Linked DNA regions of Homo sapiens: region 2 is linked to region 1. The links are contacts of gene promoters, found by promoter capture Hi-C in blood cells and fetal thymus (Javierre and others, 2016). All regions are on one chromosome and are shown on one strand. Each heading gives the region's core, a stretch centred on a gene start or on the middle of the fragment in contact. The rest is flanking DNA. Distances are from core to core; before and after follow the strand shown. Region 1 holds the start of RHBDL3 (rhomboid like 3). Region 2 overlaps RHBDL3 (rhomboid like 3).

Region 1 (6,578 bases), core at 1,462-3,961:
GTGAGAGAAGCTGCCCCGTGAAGCAAGAATCCTGGTGAGAGATCAGGAATTCCTTCTTAGGAGACTTTTGGAAACATAGCCTGCCAAGGCGGGGTAAATGTTCCTAGGGACAGAAGGAGGAACAAGATAGCCTTCTGGATGTTTCCCATCTTCCCTCTCCCTTTTATTCTAACTGCTGCCGCCCTTGTGACCTCTTCCTTGGACAGCACCTCTCATGGCCCTCTGCTCAGGCCAACCTCCCTCCTGTCTAGACTCTACACTACAGCCAAAGGGATCTTTTTTGTTTGTTTTGAGACGGAGTCTCACTCTGTCGCCCAGGCTGGAGTGCAGTGGCAGATCTCGGCTCACTGCAAGCTCCGCTTCCTGTGGTCAAGTGATTCTCCTGCCTTAGCCTCCCGAGTAGCTGGGATTACAGGCGCCCACCACCACGCCCGGCTAATTTTTTGTATTTTTTTAGTAGAGACAGGGTTTCAACGTGTTAGCCAGGACGGTCTCGATCTCCTGACCTCGTGATCCGCCCGCCTTGGTCTCCCAAAGTGCTGGGATTACAGCCGTGAGCCACCGCGCCTGGCCAGGGATCTTTTAAATATTACTCTACTGCTCACAATCCTTCAATGGCTCCCTATTGCCCTTAGGTAAAGTCCAAGCTCTTTTCCCATGAAACTCACAGCCCCTCACAACCTTCCCGTCCAGGCTGGGCTCTTTAGATTGGTCATCGTGCTCCAGTTTCCAGCCATGCCAAACTGCTTGTCGTTTGCCTCCCATATGATGCTGCTCCACAAGCCTGGTCGTGCTGTTCCCTCTACCTGGAACACCTCCTTCACCTTTTCCATGTTGCCTAGTTCTGGAGGCTTATCCTTTGGGAAGCCTTCCTGGACCCACAGCGACCCCCTCCTTTGGAGTTCTACACCTTCTGGGCTTCCCTTGAATCCAGGACTTACCCTTGTGTTGAATGTGACTGTCACCCCCAATTATCCATTTCTGGAGGGCAGGGTCTGGTTCTTATCCACCTCTGTATTCTCAAAGCTCTGTCATTGGTACTTAGTAGGAGCTTAATACATGTTCAGGAACAGAACTGAGCCTGCTAAGCTCCCTTCCCCACGAAGGGATGACAGAGTTGGATATGTTGATAAGAGCTGTCCCTGGGCTGATGAAGAGGCAGCTCCCTGGGTAGCTGGTATCAGAACACTGTCCAGGGTGGCTGGGCATCCCAGCAGAGTGGCCAACCCTTTTCTGTGCCCTTCTCCTTCCAGTTCCCCTGGAACCAGACTTCCTGGCCCACTTCTCTAGTCCCAGAGATCTAAGTATAACAGAGCCAACACCCATACCGGTCATGCAAATGACAGCCTGGGATGCGGGAGGCAGCGACACAGACCCCAGGGCCCCAGCGGTCATTTGTCCTTCTGGGCTCCTCTTCACAAAGGAATCAGCCTCTCTTCTGTCCCCTGAAGGCTGTTTTCAAAATCACACCCCATGCAGACAGTTTTATTTACAAGGAAATCTTGGCAGGATCTTGACTTGTTAGTAGAGTAGGGATGGGGAGGAGGGTGGTGAGAAACAAAAATAGTTGAAATGATCACACTTTCTGAAACAGAGATGAAAATTGGTGTCTGTAGCAAACTCACCTAATTAGAATCAAGTGAATTCCCTTCTCGGTGTTTAAGGGGAGCAGTCATTGCTGGGTGATGGTCGCAGTTCGGATCCTGGGCACGGGGTTATGTCTTTGCTTTCTGAAGATGACTGCATTAGTTGCAGCTCTCACTAATGGAAAGGAGCCTGTTCCGTTTCCCAGAGGAAGGAAGAGGGCAAAGACTAGTGAGTGAGTGGGTGGTGGGAAGAGGAAAGCAAGAGGAGTGGAAGGGCACAGCCTTGGTGTGGGCTGGGGACTGACTGCGAGATGCCTCCTGGAGAAGCTCCTGAGCCTCTGGGGAGAGCTGGCCCCTGCCAGGCCGGCCACTAGCACCATTTACAGCCAGAGCCTCTGCTTCGGGAGATGGTCTCTCTTGGGGGCGCTTTCCTGCAGGGAAACAGCATCGATTGTTTTCTTTAAAAGATCCCCTACTCCGTTTTGGCTAACTTCCTTTCTGATTGCTTTAGTTTCTTTACCGTCCCTCTCCCCAGATGGGGCATTTCCCTGGGCTTACCTTTGTCCATGTGGTCAAATGAAGCCTGGGCATGGTCACTTAGCTCTGGGTGTAGGAAGGGCAAGATTTAGGCTTTGGGGCCCACGACCCCGCAATCTGACTTCTCCCATTTCTGGGCCTCCCGAGACCTCCCAGAATCTGAGACCGCAGTGAATAGGGCGTAAGGATAATGGGGCGGGAGGCAGGAATCCCGTCCTTACAACATCGCGCCCCCAATTCACTCCTAGTTAACCCTGACGTCGCCAACATAGTGTCTCCATCACATATCTGCCACCTCCAAGTGATGGTTAAGCCGATGGAAGAGCCAAGCCCGGGCCCGGAGTGCAGGCCGGTGGTGACCGGGCCGGGGACGGCGCAGTCCCCATCCCCGCCCCGGGCAGCGCCACCACTTCCTCGCCAGCCCCGCCGCAGCCCTCCCGCTCCCGGGCCGCGCCGCTCTGACCGACTGGGCCCGGGTGGCGGCGCCCGGGGTGGGGTGCGGGGCGGGGGCCGGCGTTCCCCGCGAGCAGCCCCGCCCCCGCCCGCGCGCCGCCCCCGAGGACTCCGCGGGGAGGAGGAGACTCGGGCGCAGAGCGGGGGCCGCGAGAAGCGGGAAGGGAGCGCGGGGAGCGGCGGGGCCGGGGCCGGCCCAAGGGCGCCCTCGCCTCGGAGCCGGGCGCGAGGGCCGGGGCGGAGGCGGAGGCCGGCGGGGCAGCTAGCGCAGTGAAGTTTGGCGGCGGAGGGGCCGGGCGTCCCGGGGTCGCGAGGAGGCGGCGGCGGCGCGGGGACCGGGGCCATGGGGGCGGGCGCGGGCTGCGGAGCGGGCGCGGAGGCGGCGCGGCGCGCACTGAGCCCCTGGAGCGGCGCGGCCGCCGCGGCGCAAAGTTAGCCCGGCGCCCCGGGACGAGCCCCGCAGCCGCCGCCGCCCCCGGACCCCGTCTCGGCCATGGGCGAGCACCCCAGCCCGGGCCCCGCGGTGGCCGCCTGCGCCGAGGCGGAGCGCATCGAGGAGCTGGAACCCGAGGCCGAGGAGCGGCTGCCCGCGGCGCCGGAGGACGTGAGTGCCCCCTCCCCGCCCGGCAAACTTTCTAGGGGGCGCCGGGGGGAAAAGCCGCCCCTGTCTCGCCCCACGCCGGGCAACTTGGAGGTTTCAGGGTGACGCGGGAGCGCCCCGGATTGGCCGGGTCCCCGCGGGCAGGAGGGGGCGGAGGGACCGGTCTCCCCGAAACGCGCGCGCACCGCTTCCCCCGCTCTGGTTCCCGCGGCTTCCCTGCGGGACACAGCACCGCCACTGCGCCGCGGACCTGTCACCGCCGGAGCCCCCTCCCCGCCGCTGGTGCAGTGCCCGGGACACGGCGTTTTCCCGCAGAGGCGGCCGCGTCACGGCGGTGACTCCCCCTCCCCTCACGCCCGCGACCTGCGAGCTCCCGGAGCTGGGGAAGGAGCGGACGCCGCAGAGTCCCCGTCCCTGGCCATGCAAGCCGGCCTGGCGACCCCTTCCTCCGCTCCCGGATTAGCTCCCGCCCGGCACCTGCCTTGCCGCGACACTGATTGAAATTCAAGCCGGCCCCCGCCTCTGACCCCGGCCGGAGCAGGGAGGCAAAGAGTGCTGGGAGCGGCTTTGCTCCTAGAAGGAGGCCCGGGAGTCCAAGACCGTGGCGGTGCCAGGGGACGGTCCCCTGGGCGAGGAGAGGGAGGGGCTGCCCCGAGGGCTTCCCCGCCGTCTGCTGCTCGGGTCTCCATCCCTCCGGTCCTGCGGGCCGGCCCTGCGAAGCCCTGGGAACTGGAGTTTCTTGGGTTAACCTCCCGGGGCTAACCTACACATAGGGGTGAAAAACCGGGCAGACACCCTGCCCTGCCCACTCCTCCCTCAGGGTGGGGAGATGGAAGTGAAACCAGGCCCCCAACCCACACAACGAAAGCGGGAAAGTCTGAATGGGGTTGGGGGGTAGTTTACGATCTTCTCTCTTTGGCGTCTGCGGTTAAATCTATCACTTCCTTCTGGCCCTAAACCCCTGGCAGAATCTGATGTAGTCACCACTTAGACTCAGCCTTGGAAGAGAATGGGTGGGCTTCACCGCATTCGGCATTCACCACCCCCCCTTCCCCGCAAAAAAACAAAAAACGAACAAACAAACAAAAAACTGCAGGCAAAATGTTAGTGTTTATGCAGAGGTGAGTTCTCCTGGGGGGGGAGGGGGGGGCTCTAGCTCCCAGCAGGTGAGACTCATTGCGCCGGGGTCTGATGGAATTGCACCTGGCCATGCTCTCCCAGGCCTGGGAGTAGCTGTGGACATAAGCTTTAGGCAGCAGAAATTATTAGAGGCGCTTGGACATATTTGGACGCCTTTATTTAGTAATTGTTGAGAATCACTTGTTCTGCCAGTTCCAGAACCAGCAACACCCACCTTGCCGCCCCCGCCCCCACCCCATCCCTTACTGTGAGTTTCCTCCCTCTGCTCAGTGTGGACTCATTGGGGAGCTCCTCCCAGACTTCCCCTGCTCTCCTGTGGCCAGTCCCTGAGCCTGGTCATGACTCCTGGGCAGCCGCTGGGAGGCTATGTCAGAAACATCCGAGGACTACAGAGACCTTGGTGATAAGTGTGTCTTTCTTTCTCTCCTCTTCTTCCTCTCCTGCATGGCCTCCCTCTCTGCCAGCACTGGAAAGTCCTGTTTGATCAGGTATGTGAGCAGTTAACCCCCCATTTCCTTCCAGCCCTCCCTGAAATCGGTCTCAGTCTCCCTGCTTGCGTGGGCTTCCCTAGCTCCGCGCTCCTGAGATGGTGACGTGGGGTGGGGGTGTGGCTTTGTGCATCTCTAGGGCTGAACGACACTGCTCTCCAGGTATCAGGAGGAAGAGATGGGCTCCCCTGAGAGGATCTCCCTCCTGCCTCCTCCCTACTCTGCTGCACCAGAGCCGGGTTTACACCATGTAGAAATTGGACGTTATATATTGAATGCCTGGGAAATCCTCCATATGCCAGGGGATTGCAGTAGGGGGCTGGAGAGGTGGGGGAAGGGCTTGGGCTGACAATCCCTCTCCGTTTCTACCTCCACTATGGAGGGTCCATGGCCACCGCTGAAGTCAAATCTCTGCCATCCTTGGGGGCTGACTCACAGTATGGACTCTTTTGAAGTCTAATTCAATGTCTTTAATTCTGTCATAGGGATGAGGGAGTGCTGGGAGGTTACAGAGGGGAAATTGTGTGTGATTCTTCGCAATGCCTGGAGTCCAGGTGTAGGGCATGGAGTTGGGGGTGCCAAGTATTGGCTTTTGAACCTGGAGATGGACATTTGACCTTCAGCAAGGAAATGGTTCTCCTCTTAGCATTCGTGGTGGGTGCTGTTATGTGCTTCCTTCTCCCTCTTTGCCCCATGTTGGAGGATAGTTGAGTGCTATAGTCCTGGGGTGAGAATGATTGTGCCATGAAGTTTGTGCAACTTTAAGAAATTGGTGTGAGTGGGCCAGAGGGAATGTGTTGGGTAGGAGAAGGAGATAAAGCTGAAAAATTAGCTTGAACCAGGACTTCGTTGTAGGCAGGGGAAGCCTTAGAAAGTTTTTTAGCAGGGTTGTTATGTGATCCAAGCCAGGCTTGGGAAAGCTCCAGTGTCTTAGGGGATAAGGAGTGAATGGGCTACGGGGATGAGGGAAGCTAGGCAGGAGCTGCAGCACTGAACAGAGGCAAGAAGGTGACAGTGAGGATGGACGGGAAGAGGGACATGGTGATGGAAGAATTGGAAGATCTTAATAGACCGTAGGTGAGGGGAACCACATATCTAACTTTGAGATTCTGAACCTAGGAGGGAAAGAAGTTGGAGTGGGGCCAGGTGTGGTGACTCACGCTTGTAATCCCAACACTTTGGGAGGCTAAGGCGGGAGGATCACTTGAACCCAGTAGTTCAAGACCAGCCTCGCCAACAAAGTGAGACCTCATCTCTACAAAAAATTAAAAAATCAGCCAGGCATGGTAGCACACTCCTGTGGTTCCAGCTACATGAGAGACTGAGGCAGGAGGATTGCCTGAGCCCAGGAAGTTGAGGCTGCAGTGAGCCACGATCGTGCTACTGCACTCCAACCTGAGTGACAGAGTGGGACCCTGTCTCAAAACAAAAACAAAAAACAAGTTGGAGTGAGGAGAGACGTTTGGCAAAAATGACAACTTTGGTTTGAGACAAGTTCAGTTAGAGGAGCCAGCCGGTTGCAGATGCCGGAGTGGGCGTGATGACACGGAATTGCAGCGCGAAAGGCCTGGGGTGAGGATTTGGGGTGATCATCCACATTAACCACGAGGTCTGGCTGTGGTTTGAAGTTCAAAGCATGCACTGGCTCCTGTCCTGACGGGTAGAGCATCTCTCCCTCTGGCTCCTAAGAGTACAGCAGCTGCTGGCCTGATGCCCCAAGGCAGGAGGGAGCCCGCTGCGCCACTGCCACCACTACCACCAAGCTGCCAGCCC
Region 2 (6,578 bases), core at 1,743-4,242, 33 kb after region 1:
AAAAAAAAAAAAAAAGAAAAAAGAAAAAAAACAGAAAACCTGGGATCCCATATCCTAGTCCTGAGGGTTTTGGAGCAGAATAGGTCTCTTTTTTTTTTTTTTTTTTTTTTGAGATGGAGTCTCGTTGTGTCACCCAGGCTGGAGTGCAGTGGCGCGATCTTGGCTCACTGCAGCCACCACCTCCTGGGTTCAAGCGATTCTCCTTCCTCAGCCCCCTGAGTAGCTGGGACTACAGGTGCATGCCACCACTCCCAGCTTATTTTTGTATTTTTAGTAGAGATAGGGTTTCACCATATTGGCCAGGTTGGTCTTGAACTCCTGACGTTGTGATCCGCCCACCTCAGCCTCCCAAAGTGCCAGGATTACAGGCTTGAGCCACCGCACCTGGCCTAGATCTCTTCTTATACCAGTAAAGAGAAACCTCTCTTATGAGACTTTAAGGGAAAGCTTTGAATTATTAAGTTATAAGATGTATATTTAATGCCTGCACTTGTTTTGAGAACATATTTTTCTTTAAACACCCGTAGCTCTTTTTTATTTTATTTTATTTTATTTTATTTTATTTTATTTTATTTTATTTTATTTTTTGAGAAGGAATCTCGCTCTTTTGCCCAGGCTGGAGTGCAATGGTGCGATCTCGGCTCACTGCAACCTCCACCTCCCAGGTTCAAGCTATTCTCCTGCCTCAGCTTCCCGAGTAGCTGGGATTACAGGCACCTGCCAGCCTCAGCTTCTCTAGTAGCTGGGAGTACAGGCACCTGCCACCATGCCTAATTTTCATATTTTTAGTAAAGACGGGGTTTCACCACGCTGGCCAGGCTGGTCTCGAACTCCTGACCTCAGGTGATCCACCTGTCTGGGCCTCCTGCAGTGCTAGGATTACAGGCATGAGCCACCACGCCTGGCTAACATCCATAGCTCTTACAAATAGAGCCAGAACATGGCCAGGCGCAGTGGCTCATGCCTGTAATCCCAAAACTTTGGGAGGCCGAGGCGAGTGGATCACTTGAGGTCAGGAGTTCGAGACCAGCCTGCCTAACATGGTGAAACCCCATCTCTACTAAAAATACAAAAATTAGCCGGGCATGGTGGCCTGTAATCCCAACTACTTGGGAGGCTGAGACAGGAGAATCGCTTGAACCCAGGAGGCAGAGGTTGCAGTGAGCTGAGATCATGCCACTGCATTCCAGCCTAGTTGACAGAGCAACACTCCATCTCAAAAAACAAAACAAAACAAAAACAAACAAACAAAAAACAAAGAGAGCCAGAATGACCACATGGCCCAGTGAATGGAGCAGGTCAGGCAGATTGGAGACCTGAACTGTTGTGTCAGCGTGGCCACTAACTGTGGCTGGTCACTATCTCTGAACCTTGGTTTTTCACATGTTAACTGATGGAGTTGCTGGATCTTTTTTTTTTTTTTTTTTTTTTTTTTTTTCAGAGATGGTATCTCACTATGTTGCCTAGGCTGATCTTGAACTCCTGGGTTCAAGTGGTCCTCCCACCCTGGCCTCTCAAAGTGTTGGGCTTACAGGTGTGGGCCACTGCGCCCAGCCTAGTTGCTGGATCTTGACTGTGGTTAGTCTGTCTCACTGTGCCAAGTGAAATGCTGCCAGTCACGCCCAGGCCTTGCACATCTGTTCCTGTCCCATCTGGAAGGAACACTCTTTCCAAGATGGTCTGTCTGAATTGTCATTCCTTCCCCTAGACCATGAGCTCCTCGCAGGCAGAGGTGGTCTTGTTCATTGCTGGATCCCTGGCATCTTGGGGGATGCAGGTGTTTGTTGAATGAATGAATGAATGAATGAATGAATAGATGAATGAGTGAGTGTGGTCTCTCTGTCACAGGATAGAACACCTGGGACTCAATGTGGTGCTGCAGCTGCTGGTGGGGGTGCCCCTGGAGATGGTGCATGGAGCCACCCGAATTGGGCTTGTCTACGTGGCCGGTGTTGTGGCAGGTAGGCAGGTAGGCCCCGTGTCCACAAAGGCACACTGCCCCAGGGTGGGGTGGGAGACCCTGTGGGGCGGGGCAAGCCCCAGGTTTCCAGGACACACAGAAGATCCTCATCTCCAAGGCTCCTGACTTAACCAGGCTGTCCTCCAGGCACACCCACCTCCCTATGAGGCTGGAGAACGGACTGCTGCCCATAGAGGGAGGTGTGTGGCAGGACGGGGGAGGAGAGCACTGGATTTGGGACAGGCTGGACAACCGACTCTCGGTCTCACACCACCATGTGGTAGCTCTCTGAGCTTGGGGAAATTTCCTAACCTCTTTTGGCCATGTTAAGCTTTAAGAGGGAACTAATGAGATCTGCCTGTAGGGTTGCCAGGAGGGCAGAGTGAGTGAGGCAACAGATGGAACAACAGTGCTCCGAAAACTGCAAGGGCACAGTGAGATCCCCACAGGGGAATCAAAGGGGTGAGTGGAGCCAGGTACCACCCTGGCCACGTAGCACCTGTCCCCAAAAAGAGAGCTGGCTGCTACCCAGACCAACCGCAGTCCCCTTGCCTGACCCACTGCTGACAGGGAGTCTGACCTAAGAGGCAGTGAGCCCTGGCTCCATCTGAAGGCATCTGGGCCTCCAGCTGAGTGGGCACACGTGTGGCCAGTGATCATCCTTCATGGATAGTGGCCAGAGTGACTCCCAGTGAGCCTTCCACCTTCTGCCCCCTCCCCAGTGGGAGGTGAGGTGGGTGAAGTTAGCTGGGGAGAGCACGGATTTCTGCAGGAAGCGTCTGCCAGCCAGGCCTCTGAACATGAGGATCTCCCTCGTGATGTCTCCAACTTTATTGCCGGCTGTTTTTTTTTTTTTTTTTAACAAGGTTTGCCGCCTCAGCTCTTCAGCTTGACAGCTGTGCCCAAGGGAGCTTTGTGTGTATGTTTAAGTAAGATCTTAATCCTTTCTGAGTGGTATTAAAGTTGTCATCAGGAGAGCCGGGCAGCGTCAGCCTTGTAAACAACAGGCAGGCAGGGACCCTGGGAGTAACTGAAGTGGTTTCAGAAATCAAAGAGGAAGGGTCCCACCCCACCCACACGAGGCTGGTCTGCTAGTGCATGAACCCTTGGCCTGGGAGATTCACCCTGCACCATCTCCTTTGCTCCTGTATGCGCTGAGGTTAAAATCGTTGGCCACCTTGGTCAGCACCCCTGCAAGCCCCTCCCAGAATCCAAGGCTCACCACGTCCTTGAATAAAGGGCTAATGAGCATCTCTAAGTGCCAGACTTGTTCAGCCACCCACACACCCCCTAATCCTGACATCTGAGGATTGATAGCCTCATTTTCCATACCTCAATACCCAGAGACCCAGATGTTAAATAGCAAGGAACAGGGAAGACATTAATAACATTTGCAGTTAGTATTCAATTAGATGGGAATGCCAATAACCTAGAAGACAAAAATAAGATTCAAATGGACTCAGACCTCACCCAAACCAGGTGACATGCAGTGGGGAGACAGAGTAGGTGTCACCTCCCCAGTGACACCAGTGCAGAGTGGGAAGATTCAAACAGAAGCAGAGCTCATCACCTGAATGTGAGCATGTAGGGCTGTATCATTGAGCACATGGCGTGCACTGTTCTGTCTGAGTCAGTGATTAAGACCAGAGGGCACTCTGGTCACCACACATGTCATTGATCTCCATGATTGAGTTGATTGATCTGTCTCTGCTGTCTACCCTTTCCTGTCCTCCCAAGCTTTCCTCTGAGAGGTGAGCCGGTTTACAGCCAGCCAGCCCTAGATTGGACGGGTGGCACTTATCAGTGCCTACCATATGCAGGCCGTAATTCATCCACACAGCAACGCTACGAGGTGGGCACTGCTGCTCTCCCCCAGCACAGATATGGAAACCAAGGCTTAGATGGCTAAGTGGCTCGCCCAAGAAGACACAGCTAGAAAGTGGTGGAGCTGGGCAGGGTCTGACCCCCAAGGCTGTGATCTCAACCACTATAATAGTATGACGAGAACCAAAAGGTGGTCCTTGTCCTTTTTGCAGTTAATTTATTGTCAGAAACCAAGGCAGACCAGGTGCAGTAGCTCACACCTGTAATCCCAATACTTTGGGAGGTCAAGGCAGGAAGATCGCTTGAGCCCAAGAGTTCCAGGCCAAGCTGAGCAACATAGGGAGACCCTGTCTCTACAAAAAGTTTTTTAAAAATTAGCTGGGCATGGTGGTGTAGGCCTGTAGTCCCACCAGCTACTTGGGAGGCTGATGCAGGAGGATCGCTTGAGCCCAGAAGTGCAAGGCTGCAGTGAGCTGTGATAACACCACTGCACTCCAGCCTGGGTGACAGAGCAAGAACCTGTCTCAAAAAAGAAAAAAAGAAAAAAACCAAAGGAGACCTTAATAGATGTCTGGCAGCCTTACTCTCTAATTCCTTCCCAGTGAAAGTGTTTCCAATCCACACTTTGTAATGAGGATAGCTAACCTCTATGGGGCATATACATGCTCCAGGCATATGATGAGGGGTTTGCGGATGATCGTGGATGCTATGCTCATCACTGCTGTCCTATATGGTGGGTACTACCACTCCCATTTTACAGGCAGCCCAGGGAGGTGAAATGACTTGCAGATTTGCTTACCTGAAAAGTACTAGAACTAGGGAGGAGCCCTTCCCAAGCCCTGTGCTTCTTTCCTTTTTTTTTTTTGATTTTGAGACGGAGTCTCACTGTGTCACCCAGGCTGGAGTGCAGTGGCATGATCTCGGCTCACTGCAACCTCCGCCTCTTGCGTTCAAGCAATTCTCTGCCTCAGCCTCCTGAATAGCTGGGATTGCAGGTGCCCACCACCGCGCCCGGCTAATTTTTTTGTATTTTTAGTAGAGACGGGGTTTCACCGTCTTGGCCAGGTTAGTATTGAACTCCTGACCTCATGATCCACCCGCCTTGGCCTCCCAAAGTGCTGGGATTACAGGCGTGAGCCACTGCGCCTGGCAGCCCCCTGTGCTTCTTTCTAACCAATGCTTGAGGCCAATGTGAAAATCACTTATGGCTAGCAATTATATGGCACACAATGTAGGTATTTTAAAAACCAGTATCTTGGGCCGGGCAAAGTGGCTCACTCCTGTAATCCCAGCACTTTGGGAGGCTGAGGTGAGGGGATTGCTTGTGGCCAGAAGTCAAGACCAGCCTGGGCAACATAGTGAGACCCCCATCTCTACCAAAAAAAAAAAAATCAATATCACCAATCTTATATTATAGATTATATAGATTACTAACCACGTGTGCATCCCCAGGGCCTAGCACAGGGCTTGGCACATGTTAGGCAATAAATATTTATAGAATAAAGGAAAGTTGGCGGGCATGGTGGCTCACACCTGTAATCCCAGCACTTTGGGAGGCCGAGGCGAGCAGATCACATGAGATGGGGAGTTTGAGACCAGCCTGGCCAACATGGTGAAACCCTGTCTCTACTGAAAATACAAAAATTAGCTGGGCATGATGGCAGCCACCTGTAATCCCAGCTACTCAGGAAGCTGAGGCAGGAGAATTGCTTGAACCCAGGAGGCGGTGGTTGCAGTGAGCAGAAATCTCATCATTGCACCCCAGCCTGGGCAACAAGAGTGAAACTCTGCCTCAAAAAAAAAAAGGAAAGATACGTAAATAAAGTTACATTACTTAAAGATAAATGTTCTGCCAATTTTTATTTGGATTTTTTTTAAGGCCAAAGAAGATGTTGAAGAACACCTGCTTTAAAATTTTCTGGGCTAAAATTATCACAGCTGTACCTTATGGCAAAGTTGCCAGTTTATCTGTGTGCTGGCATGACCTCAGAATTTTGGGGTGCAGGATACAGAATTTGTAATCCTGATGAGAACTAAGGCCCATGGTTTGCCTCTGTGCAGAGGTGTGGCATGTCACTCCAGTTTGCCATTCTCTCCTAGTCCTCTGCCTCCATGACCTCTGTGGAATTCATACTGGTCTTATCTGCCTGTACCTGTTAGGATTGTTCAGAGCTCTGGAGGGGATTCCTCCCTGGCCCACACTTCCTGCCCGGGGAGGGCCTTTATTACTGTGTTTATGTGTACACAGCCCCATGTTTGTCTTTGGTCTCTCCCAGTTGCTCTAGTCCAGGCCTCACCTGCAGTCACTTGAAAGTCTGCTTTTTTTTAGTTTTTTGGAGTTTTTTTTGAGACGAAGTCTTGCTCTGTCATCCAGGCTGGAGTGTAGTGGCACGATCTCGGCTCACTGCAACCTCTGCCTCCCAGGTTCAAGCGATTCTTGTGCCTCAGCATTCCGAGTAGCTGGGGGGCTATATGCATGCGCCACCATGTCCAGCTAATTTTTGTATATATATATATATATATATTTTTTTTTAGTAGCAATGGGGTTTCACCATGTTGGCTAGATTGGTCTCGAACTCCTGACCTCAGGTGATCTGCCTGCCTCAGCCTCCCAAAGTGCTGGGATTACATAAGGGGTGAGCCACCCCACCTGGCCCAAAAGTCTTTATATCACCAATGTGGGGGCAGGTGGATTCAGGCCGTTACCTTTGAGGTTCCAGAATCGGGACCCGAGCCGCGGCCCCTGGATCTTAGGCCAAGACTCAGGTCACTGAATTTCTGATCTGGAAGGAAC

Evidence for each region. The method cuts DNA at HindIII sites, captures the fragments that hold promoters and counts their contacts. A CHiCAGO score of 5 or more calls a contact.
Region 2: a fragment that was not itself captured here is called in contact with the fragment with the promoter of RHBDL3 in region 1 in 3 of 17 cell types (M1 macrophages, M0 macrophages and megakaryocytes); the score reaches 5.5 in M1 macrophages.

What each region holds. Positions count from the first base shown.
Region 1 is chr17:32,263,121-32,269,698 of GRCh38, forward strand. It overlaps RHBDL3 (rhomboid like 3), which reads left to right and starts at 2,712. Exons shown (of 9, transcript NM_138328.3): 1 at 2,712-3,180; 2 at 4,782-4,805. The coding sequence starts at 3,070. It overlaps LOC105371731 (a long non-coding RNA gene), which reads right to left and starts at 2,331. Exons shown (of 3, transcript XR_934665.2): 1 at 2,145-2,331; 2 at 1,626-1,776. The HindIII fragment of the contact is 5,065 bases long and covers 1-4,421 here.
Region 2 is chr17:32,296,244-32,302,821 of GRCh38, forward strand. RHBDL3 (rhomboid like 3) reads left to right here. Exons shown (of 9, transcript NM_138328.3): 6 at 1,849-1,961. Among named protein-coding and RNA genes, the nearest start is that of RHBDL3, 34 kb to the left of the region's middle. RefSeq lists enhancers at 2,135-2,765, 6,282-6,578. The HindIII fragment of the contact is 1,406 bases long and covers 2,290-3,695 here.